4 separate regions of the Homo sapiens genome follow, and regions 1, 2 and 4 are each linked to region 3. Evidence: promoter capture Hi-C in human tissues and cell types (Jung and others, 2019). All regions are on one chromosome and are shown on one strand. Each heading gives the region's core, a stretch centred on a gene start or on the middle of the fragment in contact. The rest is flanking DNA. Distances are from core to core; before and after follow the strand shown.

Evidence for each region. The method cuts DNA at HindIII sites, captures the fragments that hold promoters and counts their contacts. A contact is called where the count stands out against the background at its distance.
Region 1: a fragment that was not itself captured here is called in contact with the fragment with the promoter of NDUFA12 in region 3 in 1 of the 25 tissues and cell types used here (H1 embryonic stem cells).
Region 2: a fragment that was not itself captured here is called in contact with the fragment with the promoter of NDUFA12 in region 3 in 1 of the 25 tissues and cell types used here (lymphoblastoid cells).
Region 4: a fragment that was not itself captured here is called in contact with the fragment with the promoter of NDUFA12 in region 3 in 1 of the 25 tissues and cell types used here (small bowel).

Annotation. Positions count from the first base shown.
Region 1 is chr12:95,297,005-95,299,704 of GRCh38, reverse strand. The region is part of intron 11 of VEZT (vezatin, adherens junctions transmembrane protein); the gene reads right to left. Among named protein-coding and RNA genes, the nearest start is that of MIR331, 10 kb to the left of the region's middle. The HindIII fragment of the contact is 4,254 bases long and covers 1-2,700 here.
Region 2 is chr12:94,569,954-94,572,804 of GRCh38, reverse strand. TMCC3 (transmembrane and coiled-coil domain family 3) reads left to right here. Exons shown (of 4, transcript NM_020698.4): 4 at 1,068-2,851. The coding sequence ends at 1,370. MIR7844 (microRNA 7844) reads left to right here and starts at 1,453; the gene lies at 1,453-1,574. The HindIII fragment of the contact is 6,963 bases long and covers 1-2,851 here.
Region 3 is chr12:95,002,393-95,005,236 of GRCh38, reverse strand. NDUFA12 (NADH:ubiquinone oxidoreductase subunit A12) reads left to right here and starts at 1,540. Exons shown (of 4, transcript NM_018838.5): 1 at 1,540-1,642; 2 at 2,416-2,498. The coding sequence starts at 1,557. RefSeq lists enhancers at 1,418-1,817, 1,282-1,909. The HindIII fragment of the contact is 12,199 bases long and covers 1-2,844 here.
Region 4 is chr12:95,319,321-95,322,045 of GRCh38, reverse strand. No RefSeq gene overlaps it. Among named protein-coding and RNA genes, the nearest start is that of MIR3685, 11 kb to the right of the region's middle. The HindIII fragment of the contact is 3,360 bases long and covers 1-2,725 here.

The DNA.
Region 1 (2,700 bases), core at 195-2,694, 290 kb before region 3:
AGCAGCATGGTTTTCACTGATAATACATCAGATAAAAGGCTTAAAGTAATCTAGATAATAATAATATCTTCCATATGTATACATATATATTTACAAGTTAAAACAGCATGGAAAAAAATGCAACATACAATTTAACTTACTTGCCAACCACCTAACAAGACCCTAATGAAAGAAAAGCCATAACTTCTACACATTTTGTAGTACCACGAAAAATACAAATGAAGTCTGCATTCAAGATCAACTATTGTACAAAATATAATACATAAATATAATATATATTCATACGGTAGAAGTTGTCCTTGCAAGGAAAATGCAGTTTTATTTAGCCCCTCTTGATGTTAGTAGGCAGTGGGTTGCTTGCTAGGCAGTCGCTCATCCCAGCATGAGGGGTTAGTACAATACAATATAGTATGAAGCATGACGGAAGGAAAAAAGTGCTTCTCGAAGAGCTGGCGTGTATTTAAAAAACGTTTTTGTAAAATGTGTCCACTTCCAGGAACCATCCCTAAGCTGCAGTAACTCCACTAGAGAAGCAGCAACAACAGAAAAAAAATGGCCACAGCAGGTTCCAGTGCAGACTTTCCCCCTCTAATTCCATGCGGACTTTACCCCTGTAGGCAGAGATGAAAACAGCTCTGGAAGATGTACTGAAATTTTTCATGGGAAAAGCATTCTATGGTATCAGCAGCTTTTTACTTATTTTCACAAACTAAAACAGCATTATGACCCTTTCCAATGTAAACTATATCAAAAGCACATACCTGAAAAAGAGACACATTTCTCTCATTGATAAATCTTTCCCATAATGTCAATAGCATAATTTTAAAGCTATATGAAGAAACACTAAACAATAAAAAAGGATATAAGTTTATATACAATGCTATTTTCAATATATGTACATTCTTAGTTTATAAATCTGTTAGCTCTTAAAGGAAGCAACATATATTAGAAGTTGGTTGATAGTTCACAATTATTACTAATTAAATGGGGTGGATATAATCTGAGTAATGAGAGGATCAATTGACGAGTGTGTTAGAATTTAAGCCTTGAGGCAGGTAGGAGGCTTTACATTTTGTCTCTTGATCTTTGCGCTAGGGATACAGCAGTAAACAGTGCCTGACATATAACAAGTACCTAATAACTACTTGTTGAATGAGTAATTTGCTGAATGAATGCTGTGGGATAATAAGGCCCCTATTTAAGAAGACTGTAATTTTGTTACAGAGACAAACAAAACAAAACAAAACAAAACCCTGAACATATAGAAAACAACAGTGCCTAAAATTAATCTCTGATGTATGTAGGCCCAGTATATGAATGAACAGATTGCAGGAAATCAATCTGTTAATCATTTCCCTTCTCTGCTATATGCTTTGGGGTTCAAGACTTCCTTTATATTTTATCACAATGTTCCTCTAGTGTGAGGGTCTGTAGTGTTAGGAGAGGCGGCAGAGCTGGAGCACTCAGAGAAGGATTCATGGAGAAGGAGAGACTAGTAGAGAGGACAGCTTGGTGGAGAAGGCAGAATTCTTGGTAAAGGGGTAAGCATGAATTATTATTATTATTATTATTATTATTATTTTTTGAGAGAGAGTCTCACTCTGTCACCCAGGCTGGAGTGCAGTGGTGCGATGTCGGCTCACTGCAACCTCCACCTCCCAGGTTCAAGCGATTCTCCTGCCTCAGCCTCCAGAGCAGCTGGGATTATAGGTGTGCGCCATCACACCTGGCTAATTTTTGTATTTTTAGTAGAGAGGGGGTTTCGCCATGTTGGCCAGGCTGGTCTTGAACTCCTGACCTCAAGTGATCCACCTGCCTTGGCCTCCCAAAGTGTTGGAATTAGAGGCGTGAGCCACTGTGCTTGGCCAGCATGAATTTTTTTCATGAATAAAAATAACACATTTGTGAACTGTAGTTTAATTCGATAAACATAAGAAGATATCTATAGTAAAAACAGTAGAAAATATAATTGGATAGATGAATTCTTATGATGAAGAGACTTGAAAACAGGAAAAAGAGTTTAGATTCAACACAATAAGAAAGGGAGAAACCACTATAGGTTTTAAGATAGAGAGCCATCATCAATGCAGTGTTGGAGAAAAATCTGCAAAGAGTTTGCAAGATAGCTTAGAAGAAAAAAGTACTGAAAATGGAAGTCAGCTAAGAAGGTATTTTAATGTACAAGGATAATCTACTGAGGACCTGGGCTATAAAGGGGGCCAATGGGAAGAAAGAGGAATGATAAAACCAAGAAATGCAGATCTGGACAGGAGAAAACATAGGGCTCCTGAGGGGAAAAAAAAAAAGAGAACTGGAGGAACTTTCCAGAAGTATAGGTAATCTATGTACTTCTAGTGAGGAGGGAAAAGCAGGGCAGTTGATTTCGAGGGTCCACACAGATACTGTAAAATGGAAGAGAATCCACACTCTACCTACTTAGAAATCCATAGGCATTAATTCAACTAAGAATTAGCTAGGTTGATACTGTCAAGTATTAAGCTTCCCCTGATTCCTTCCCTGTCTCCCATGAAGTTTGACTTAAGAAAAGAAGGGTGAGAAACAGAAAGGAATGTAAGGCTTTTGTATTACCAGCTACCCCACTCTGCTGAAATCAGAGTATGGGGAGTACGCCCACAGGCACCCTGCTCCCCTCCCATCTACTAAAGTGCTCAAACCACTTAAATAATGCTAATGATGTGG
Region 2 (2,851 bases), core at 304-2,803, 430 kb after region 3:
GCCAATCTCTAACTGATGGACAAAAATCTTTGAGCGGTGGAAATAAGGACTGACCATTGGAGATCCCACACACTCCTTGGCTGAAAGGTGGAGTAGTCACAAAGTGGAACCTCCCTCCTTCTCTGCTTTGTCCCTGATGGCACCAACAGGCACCAATATTTTATATCACTTTATTTCAAAAATAGGTAAAGTCAGGCTGGGCATGGTGGCTCACGCCTGTAATTCCACCACTGTGGGAGGCCATGGCAGGCAGATCACTTGAGGTCAGGAGTTTGAGACCAGCCTGGCCAACATGGTAAAACCCTGTCTCTACTAAAAATACAAAAATTAGCCAAGCGTGGTGGCGTGCACCTGTAATCCCAGCTACTCAGGAGGCTGAGGCAGGAGAATTGCTTAAACCCAGAAGGCAGAGGTTGCAGTGAGCCGAGATCACGCCACTGCACTCCAGCCTGGGTGACAGAGTGAAACTCTGTCTCAAAAAAAAAAAAAAAAAAAAAAGATGAAGTCGGCTGGGCATGGTGGCTCACACCTATAATCCCAGCATTCTGGGAGGCCGAGGTGGGCCGATCACGAGGTCAGGAGATCGAGACCTTCCTTGCCAATATGGCGAAACCCCATCTCTACTAAAAATACAAAAATTAGCCAGACATGGTGGTGCGCACCTGTAGTCCCAGCTACTTGGGGGGCTGAGGCAGGAGAGTTGCTTGAACCCAGGAGGCGGAGGTTGCAGTGAGCTGAGATCGCACCACTGCACTCCAGCCTGGCGACAGAGCAAGACTACATCTCAAAAAAAACAGGTAAAGTCAAAAAACTTAGCCATACTTCCTCATTTATGGTATTTTGTGGTTGTATCCACATGCTCTTCTACTCGTGAACAACAGGAGAAAATGAGCCTGGGATTCTTGTTCCACATCTTTGTCTATCACCATCATCATCGGTTTGGGGATTTGCAGCCGCCTGGGCATTGGGCTTTCTGAGCTGGGGCTTTTGTGTACAGCTGAGCGAGCACTCACGTGTTGCTCACCATCCCAACACCGTTTGACCCTTGCTCTCCCTCTTGCTCACAGGAAGCCTTGGAATCCTGCCAGACTCGCATTTCTAAGCTGGAGCTCCACCAGCAAGAGCAGCAAGCTCTGCAGACAGACACCGTGAATGCTAAAGTTCTCCTGGGGAGGTGCATCAACGTGATCCTGGCCTTCATGACTGTCATCTTAGTGTGTGTGTCCACCATCGCGAAGTTCGTCTCACCCATGATGAAGAGTCGCTGCCACATTCTTGGCACCTTCTTTGCCGTGACTCTTCTTGCTATATTTTGTAAAAACTGGGACCATATCCTGTGTGCCATAGAAAGGATGATAATACCAAGATGAAGCCACTGGTTCCTGCCTTCAAGTTCTTTCAAGTTTTTATTTTAAAGAAAACTCTGTGCATACTACCAAATTTTACAGTGAATGATTGTGCGGACTCGTGTGTAAGAAAAACTAGGACTGTGTGGTGTAAATAACTACAATTCTCTTAACTCCGTAGCAGTTGCCAACTCAGTCCTTGTACTTCGTTAACACGAATCTGTTTCAGAGCTCTCCTACCTTGCTCACTGCCTTAATCAGACCGATTTCCTGCCCACCTGACCAGCCCAGCGTGGTAAACCTCTGTATATTGAGACCTTGGCATAATTGGTGATCCTGAAGAAAGAGGTCTCTCTCCTAAGTCTCTGTCAGAATTGAGCTTCACAATTGCTAATGGTTGTTTTCTGTGAGTCCTATAAAAAGCAAGGATATGCATGATTCAGGGAATGAAGAATCACAGGCTTGGGCAGTGTTAAACACTGTGGCCTATGGTCCCCGTGTGATCCACCCTGCTTCTCTCCAGGGGACCATAGGTCCCGTCATGTACTCAGTGTCCACAGCAGTCAGTCGTGTATGACCCTGTAACGTGGAAATCTTATCACACACCTGTTATCCAACAAGTCTACCTGAGGGGTTTTGTTACACTTTAAATGGGAAGGCATAGGGATTTATGAATGGGGCTTTCACCTTCTCATACCCAGGCAACCAACACCTGATTTTGTCTCAACTGGCTAGCAAATGCCCAGCCTTCAGAGTGTGCAGGAATGTTTTCAAATCCCTCATCAGACTGTGACTTTAACATTAATTTGGAATCCTGTGAGCACTACTCTGAAGGTTTGTGTTTTGGCAAATCTTTTTTCTTTTTTGAGACAGGGCTCTGCTAAATATTGCTCAGGCTGGTTGCAAACTCCTTGCTTCAAGGGATCCTCCCACCTCAGCCTCCCAAGCAGCCGGGACTGCAGGCACAAGCCACCATGCCTGGCTGTTTTTTGGCAAATCTTGATTGTGATAAGCCCCCCTGGAGGATATGATTCACTTTATGTGATTCATCTTATTCACAGGTCTGTGAGGGACTGCAAAGCTTACTCAGGAAATGAAAACAAATGATGGTCATGTTGCAGTTTTTTCCTTGAAGGACAACCGAACCATAGCCTCTAAAGTTCAAGTGCACTGAGGTGTCGGAACGCTGAAAGCATGAGGAAACGAGGACGTAGGGTGTGACTGAATGGTGGCTAGATTAGTGGGAGCAGTTCACCTGGATGAAGATTGAGAGCATCGTCTTTGAGAAGTGAAAGACTAGCAAGAATAAAATAAATTAAGTCCAGTGTTTGAGCCAAGGTTGCCACCTGTCTCTTAACATCTCACTGAACATAAGTCCTGAGGTATTAGGACGACCATACTGCCTCTGAGCTGAAAACATTCAAAAGTTCACATCCCTGTTTGGGGGATACCATTCACCGCCTTCAGCCCAGATGATACTTTCCTTTAAATCTGTGTCTCTGTGT
Region 3 (2,844 bases), core at 291-2,790:
ATGATCTAGCAATCCACTTCTGGGTATATATCCAAAAGAACTGAAAACAGGATCTTAGAGATATCTGCACACCCGTGTTCACTGCAGCATTATTCACAATAGCCAAGAGGCGGAATCAGCAGAAATGTTTATGGACAGGTAACTGGGTGGCATATACATACAGTGGAATATTATTCAACATTTATAAAAAGAAGAAAATCCTGTCATATACTACACTATGGATGAGCCTTGTGGATATCATGCTAAGTGAAATAAGCCAGGTCCTAAAAGACAAACACCTCATGATTCTACTTATATGAAGTATCTAAAGTAGTTAAACTCTTAGAAACAGAAGTAGAATGGTGGTTGGCAGGGGATGGAGAAAGAGGAAAAAGTTGTTCCATGGATATAAAGTTTCTGTTTTGCAAGAAGAATAAGTTCTAGAGATCTGTTGCGCAACAATGTGCATGTGGTTAACACTACTGTACACTTAAAAATGGTTAAAATGGTAAATTTTATATTTTGTGTTTTTAACCACCACTACCAAAAAAAAAAAAAAAAAGCTAGGGAACTAAATTGTTATTTTGAAAACACACATAAGGGAAAGAATCGGCTGGGTGTGGTGGCTTACACCTGTAATCCCAGCATTTTGAGAGGCTGAGGCAGGAGGATCACTTGAGGCCAGAGTTCAAAACCAACCTGGGCAACATAACAAGATGCCCATCTCTAAAAAAAAAAAAATTAGCCAGGGGTGGTGGCACTTACTTAAATGGGAGGACTGCTTGAGCACAGGAGTTTGAGGCTGCAGTGAGCTATGATCACACCACTGTATTTCAGCCTGGGTGACAGAGAGCCTGTCTCTAAAATTAAAAAACAAAAAAAAAGTAAGAGAATCAAGCACCCATACTGCCTTTCCTACATTAATTGTATCTCAGGAGCCAAATAGTTGAAGGGAGGTTTCTCTTTGTAGAAGAATTGTGGTTAACAAATGAAGTAATATTGAAATTTTTTAGGCTCAAGCGATGCTCCCATCTAAGCCTCAGCCTACCGAGTAGCTGGGACTACGGGCACGCGCCACCACATCCAGCTAATTTTTAATTTTTTTTTTTTTTTTGTAGAGACAGAATTCTCGCTGTGTTGGCGAGGCTGGTCTCGAACTCCTGGGCTCAAACGATCCTCCCTACCCGGCCTCCCAAAGTGCTGGGATTACAACAGTGAGCCACCGCGCCCACCAGAGCCAATTATTTTTAGATGAGGAAACTGAAATTCCCAAAGGGGGAATCCCCGTGTGAGAAAGCCTCGTGTAGGTGAGCTTTCCAGCATATGCCCGCCTTCTAGATTTAACCTCTGAAAACTAAATTTTAAGGTACCTTTGCTTCCAGGGGAAACCAATTCTGCCTACTTGGGAAGCCAGAACATGACCGCGTAGGCAAGACCTAGCTCTGCGCACGCGCAGAGCCACCACGTCTGGCGTTCGCGTGAGAACCTTCTGGGCGTGGGCTTCCTGCGGCTGAGTGGCAGCTTCCATCCGGTGGGTTTTGCTCGGCGCACCCGGGAGGCGGGGCCAGCGAGGCAAGATGGAGTTAGTGCAGGTCCTGAAACGCGGGCTGCAGCAGATCACCGGCCACGGCGGTCTCCGAGGCTATCTACGGGTTTTTTTCAGGTAGGCGGCCAGAGCCATGCTCTTGGCCTCTGGGGCTGGACTTTCGCTGGCTGATTTCTTGGAAGGGGTCCCAGGCTCGGGTCACCTTGGAGAATCCACAGCTCTTGTCAAGGACAACCGCCCCAATCTCTGCCTTGCCACCCCCAGGCTGGTCTCTGTCCCATATATCCCCGATACAAGACCGAAGCTATCTGTAGAGTCAGAGCTGTGACTCGGAGGCAAGGGCATCTGGGCTCCCCTCTTTTCCCACGCCCTGGAGAGTAATGAGGATTACAAGACATTAACTCAGTGACCCTGGTAAAGTTTTTTTCCCTGCACTGCCGTACAGTTCCTTGTCTGTAAGGCGTTGAAGGTAATAATGATGGTCCCTTCTCTTCCTGACATTCACTGATCCCACGAGCAGCATAGTTTCGCAGAAACCTAAATGGAGACCCAGAGTGGAATGAAAGAGCCTGGAGACCTTCGTATCATTGTAAGAAGATGAAATACTTTGGCTTTTTGATTTCCTAAAGGTTTTGCTAATTCCAGTGCCTCCTGGCTGAGGGATAGTAGATACAAGTAGTCCTGTAATCTGAAGAGACTACATTTATATTTTTAGTGTAATTTGAGCACATCAGTTGTCAATTCATCTTTTCCCATCCCCAGCACTTCTTCATTTTGCTAGTTGATGCAGCAGCCCTTGTGTCTGAAAGTTGTTACTCTCACTTTATTTCCGTTTATGTTTTGAACTAAGAATCATTCTAAAATGTCTGTTTTCTTTTGGGTATTCACAGGACAAATGATGCGAAGGTTGGTACATTAGTGGGGGAAGACAAATATGGAAACAAATACTATGAAGACAACAAGCAATTTTTTGGTGAGTGCAGTATTTTTTAGTATGAATAATTGGATTGGGATTGGGATTTGATTTGAGTCTATTTTCCATATTATGCAATGAGCTTTTACAAAACACCTGGAAAAGGATGAAAAACTCAATAGAAAATGAAAAAAGATAATTTACAGAAAAAAGAAAAGTAAACAGCCAATGAAGGTATGGAAAAATGCTCATTCTCACTTGTAACAACAGAAATGCAACTTTAAAAACAGTGTTATATATTTTTCACCTATCAAATTTTGAAGTGTTTTTGTTCTTTTTTTTTTTTTTTTTTTTTTTTTTTGAGATGGAGTCTCTGTCGGCCAGGCTGGAGTGCAGTAGCGCGATC
Region 4 (2,725 bases), core at 4-2,503, 320 kb before region 3:
AATAAATTATTCTGTATCAAAGCTCAAAGGTTTCCTTCCTTTTTGAATTTCTAAATGTACCTTCTAATTATAAATACATTGAACAACAAGGAAGAGGTAGTGACAAAAAAAATTGACATTCTTCCTCCTAGTGTTATCCTCCACTCCACTTAACAGGCATGCAGGTCTGTGTTTTGTTTCTTAATCAACCAAAGATCTTTAGTTGCAAGCAACAGGAACCAATTCTGATTAACCTAAGTGGGGTGTTGGTTTAAAGGATTTAGGGCAATTTACAGAGTCAAAGACAGCCTTCATCAGCTCCTTGGTAAAACCCTGGGAGAGGCGGGAGCCAGGGCAGCCTCAATAATCTCAGCAGCAGACACTCTGCACCCTTCTTTCCAGGGCGCTGCTTCCAGATGGCATCAACTTTTCATGTTGTCTATCTTGGAAAGTTTCTGCTTCAGATGCAGCCCATAAGAGATAAAGTCTGATTGGCCTCACTGATAAAGTGAGATATAATGTGAGCCTGATTTGACTCACCTGTGCAATCACATGCAAAATCACGTGTTTAGCCATGAGCTCTAGTTTGGAAAAGTCTTCATAGGTGCCTATCCTAATTCCATAGTGTAACATGAATAGAAAGGCATAGCTGTTGAGAGATCAATGACTTTGAAAGTTTGCTTCCTATTAGGTTGGTGCAAAGTAATTGCATACTTTTAATGGTAAAAACTGCAATTACTTTTGCGGCAACCTAATATAACACTGCTAGTTAGGAAGGTTGGGTGACACTTCCATTAGGGCTTTTACAGGGGAAAGTATTGAGAGTGAAATTGATTGCTCTTTATTCTTCTAAGTAAATTACCTTTTCTCCACTTTTTCCTGCATGATAACAGAGAGAGTGGCTAGAAAAATCAAGGAAATGTGGCCAGGCGCGTTGGCTCACATCTGTAATCCCAGCACTTTGGGAGGCAGAGGCAGGCAGATCATGAAGTCAGGAGATCAAGACCATTCTGGCTAACATGGTGAAACCCTGCCTCTACTAAAAAATCAGCAGGGCATGGTGGCATGCGCCTGTAGTCCCAGCTACTCAGGAGGCTGAGGCAGGAGAATCGCTTGAATGCAGGGGGCGGAGGTTGCAGTGAACCAAGATCGTGCCACTGCACTCCAGCCTGGGCAACAGAGACTCTGTCTCAAAGAAAAATCAAGTAATTGAAGCTTAGGACAGGGAGAATTCACACAAACAGAATATGCTTGAAAGCTAAACAGCAGTTTCACTTTTAACACCTTACCCAGTGAGAGCCGTACAAGATGGGCCACAGAAACATAAATACTTATAGCTATTTTTATGGGCCCCTAGTTCTCCTCTAAAAAACAAAATAAATACTGCATGGAGTTTAAGAAAAGAATTAATCTGTTCAGGCGTGGTGGCTCACGCCTGTAATCCCAGCACTTTGGGAGGCCAAGGCGGGCGGATCATGAGGTCAGGAGATGGAGACCATCCTGGCCAACAAGGTGAAACCCCATCTACACTAAAAATACAAAAATTAGCTGGGCGTGGTGTTGCATGCCTGTAATCCCAGCTACTCGGGAGGCTGAGGCAGGAGAATTTCTTGAACCCGGGAAGCAGAGGTTACAGTGAGCCAAGATCATGCCACTGCACTCCAGCCTGGCAACAGAGCAAGACTCTGTCTCAAAAAACAGAGTTTGTAAACAAAACAAAACAAAACAAAACAAAACAAAACAAAAAGAATTAATCTGAAGAAAACCAACTAATAATTAGACAATTACAAATAATTGAATTTTTCATTCTGTTTTCTTTCCAAGTCTAGTACCTCCTTCAGTGTGGCTTTGAACTCTTCAAAGTTCACTCTAAGTATGTGAGTCTGGTACCATGGAGACCAGTACAAATATCTAGAAGCAGGTGGTTTGGGCATGTCTGGTTTGAATCTGAGGAATTAGAATGCAGGTTCTCCTTGGCAAGGAGGCCTATCTTATAAAGCTGCATTGAGAGGTTTTTCTGTGACTGTATGGCAAGTCAACAGGGATGTGGTTATCAAAACAAGTTTAAGAACTTAGGGGTCAGTTATTGGTAAGAAACAGAGATTTCATCATGCTGAGCTTTGGGGAATGGTCACAGTGTTAAAGGGGGGCTGGATGGTCACAGAGAGAAGGGAAATGGAAGTCCTCTCTTAATGTGGATATACTTAGTAACTTCCCTCACCAAATCCCACCAGCCAAACATGGTATGTGAGCAGCCAGTCACCCTGTAGTCCCATTTCCAGTTTCTGCTTTTAGAGGCATGTTTGAACAGAGGCTTACATGTCTTCTACTTGGAGCCTTAAGAAAAAGCTTTTCGTAGACTGAGAGAAAAACCAGTACCTACCAAGGAAGTATGAAAATCTGATTGACATTGATGTCGTGATAGTTTTTTTTTTTTTTTTGAGACAGAGTCTAGCTCTGTCACCCAGGCTGGAGTGCAGCAGCATGATCTTGGGTTACTGCAACTGCTGCCTCCCAGGTTCAAGCGATTCTCCTGCTTCAGGCTCCCGAGTAGCTGGGATTGCAGGCATGCACCACCACGCCCAGCTAATTTTTATATTTTAGTACAGACGGGGTTTCACCATGTTGGCCAGGTTGGTCTTGAACTCCTGACCTCAGGCGATCTGCCCACATCTGCCTCCCAAAGTGCTGGGATTACAGGCATGAGCCACTGGGGGTGGCCATGATAGTTATTTTAAGATCAGGA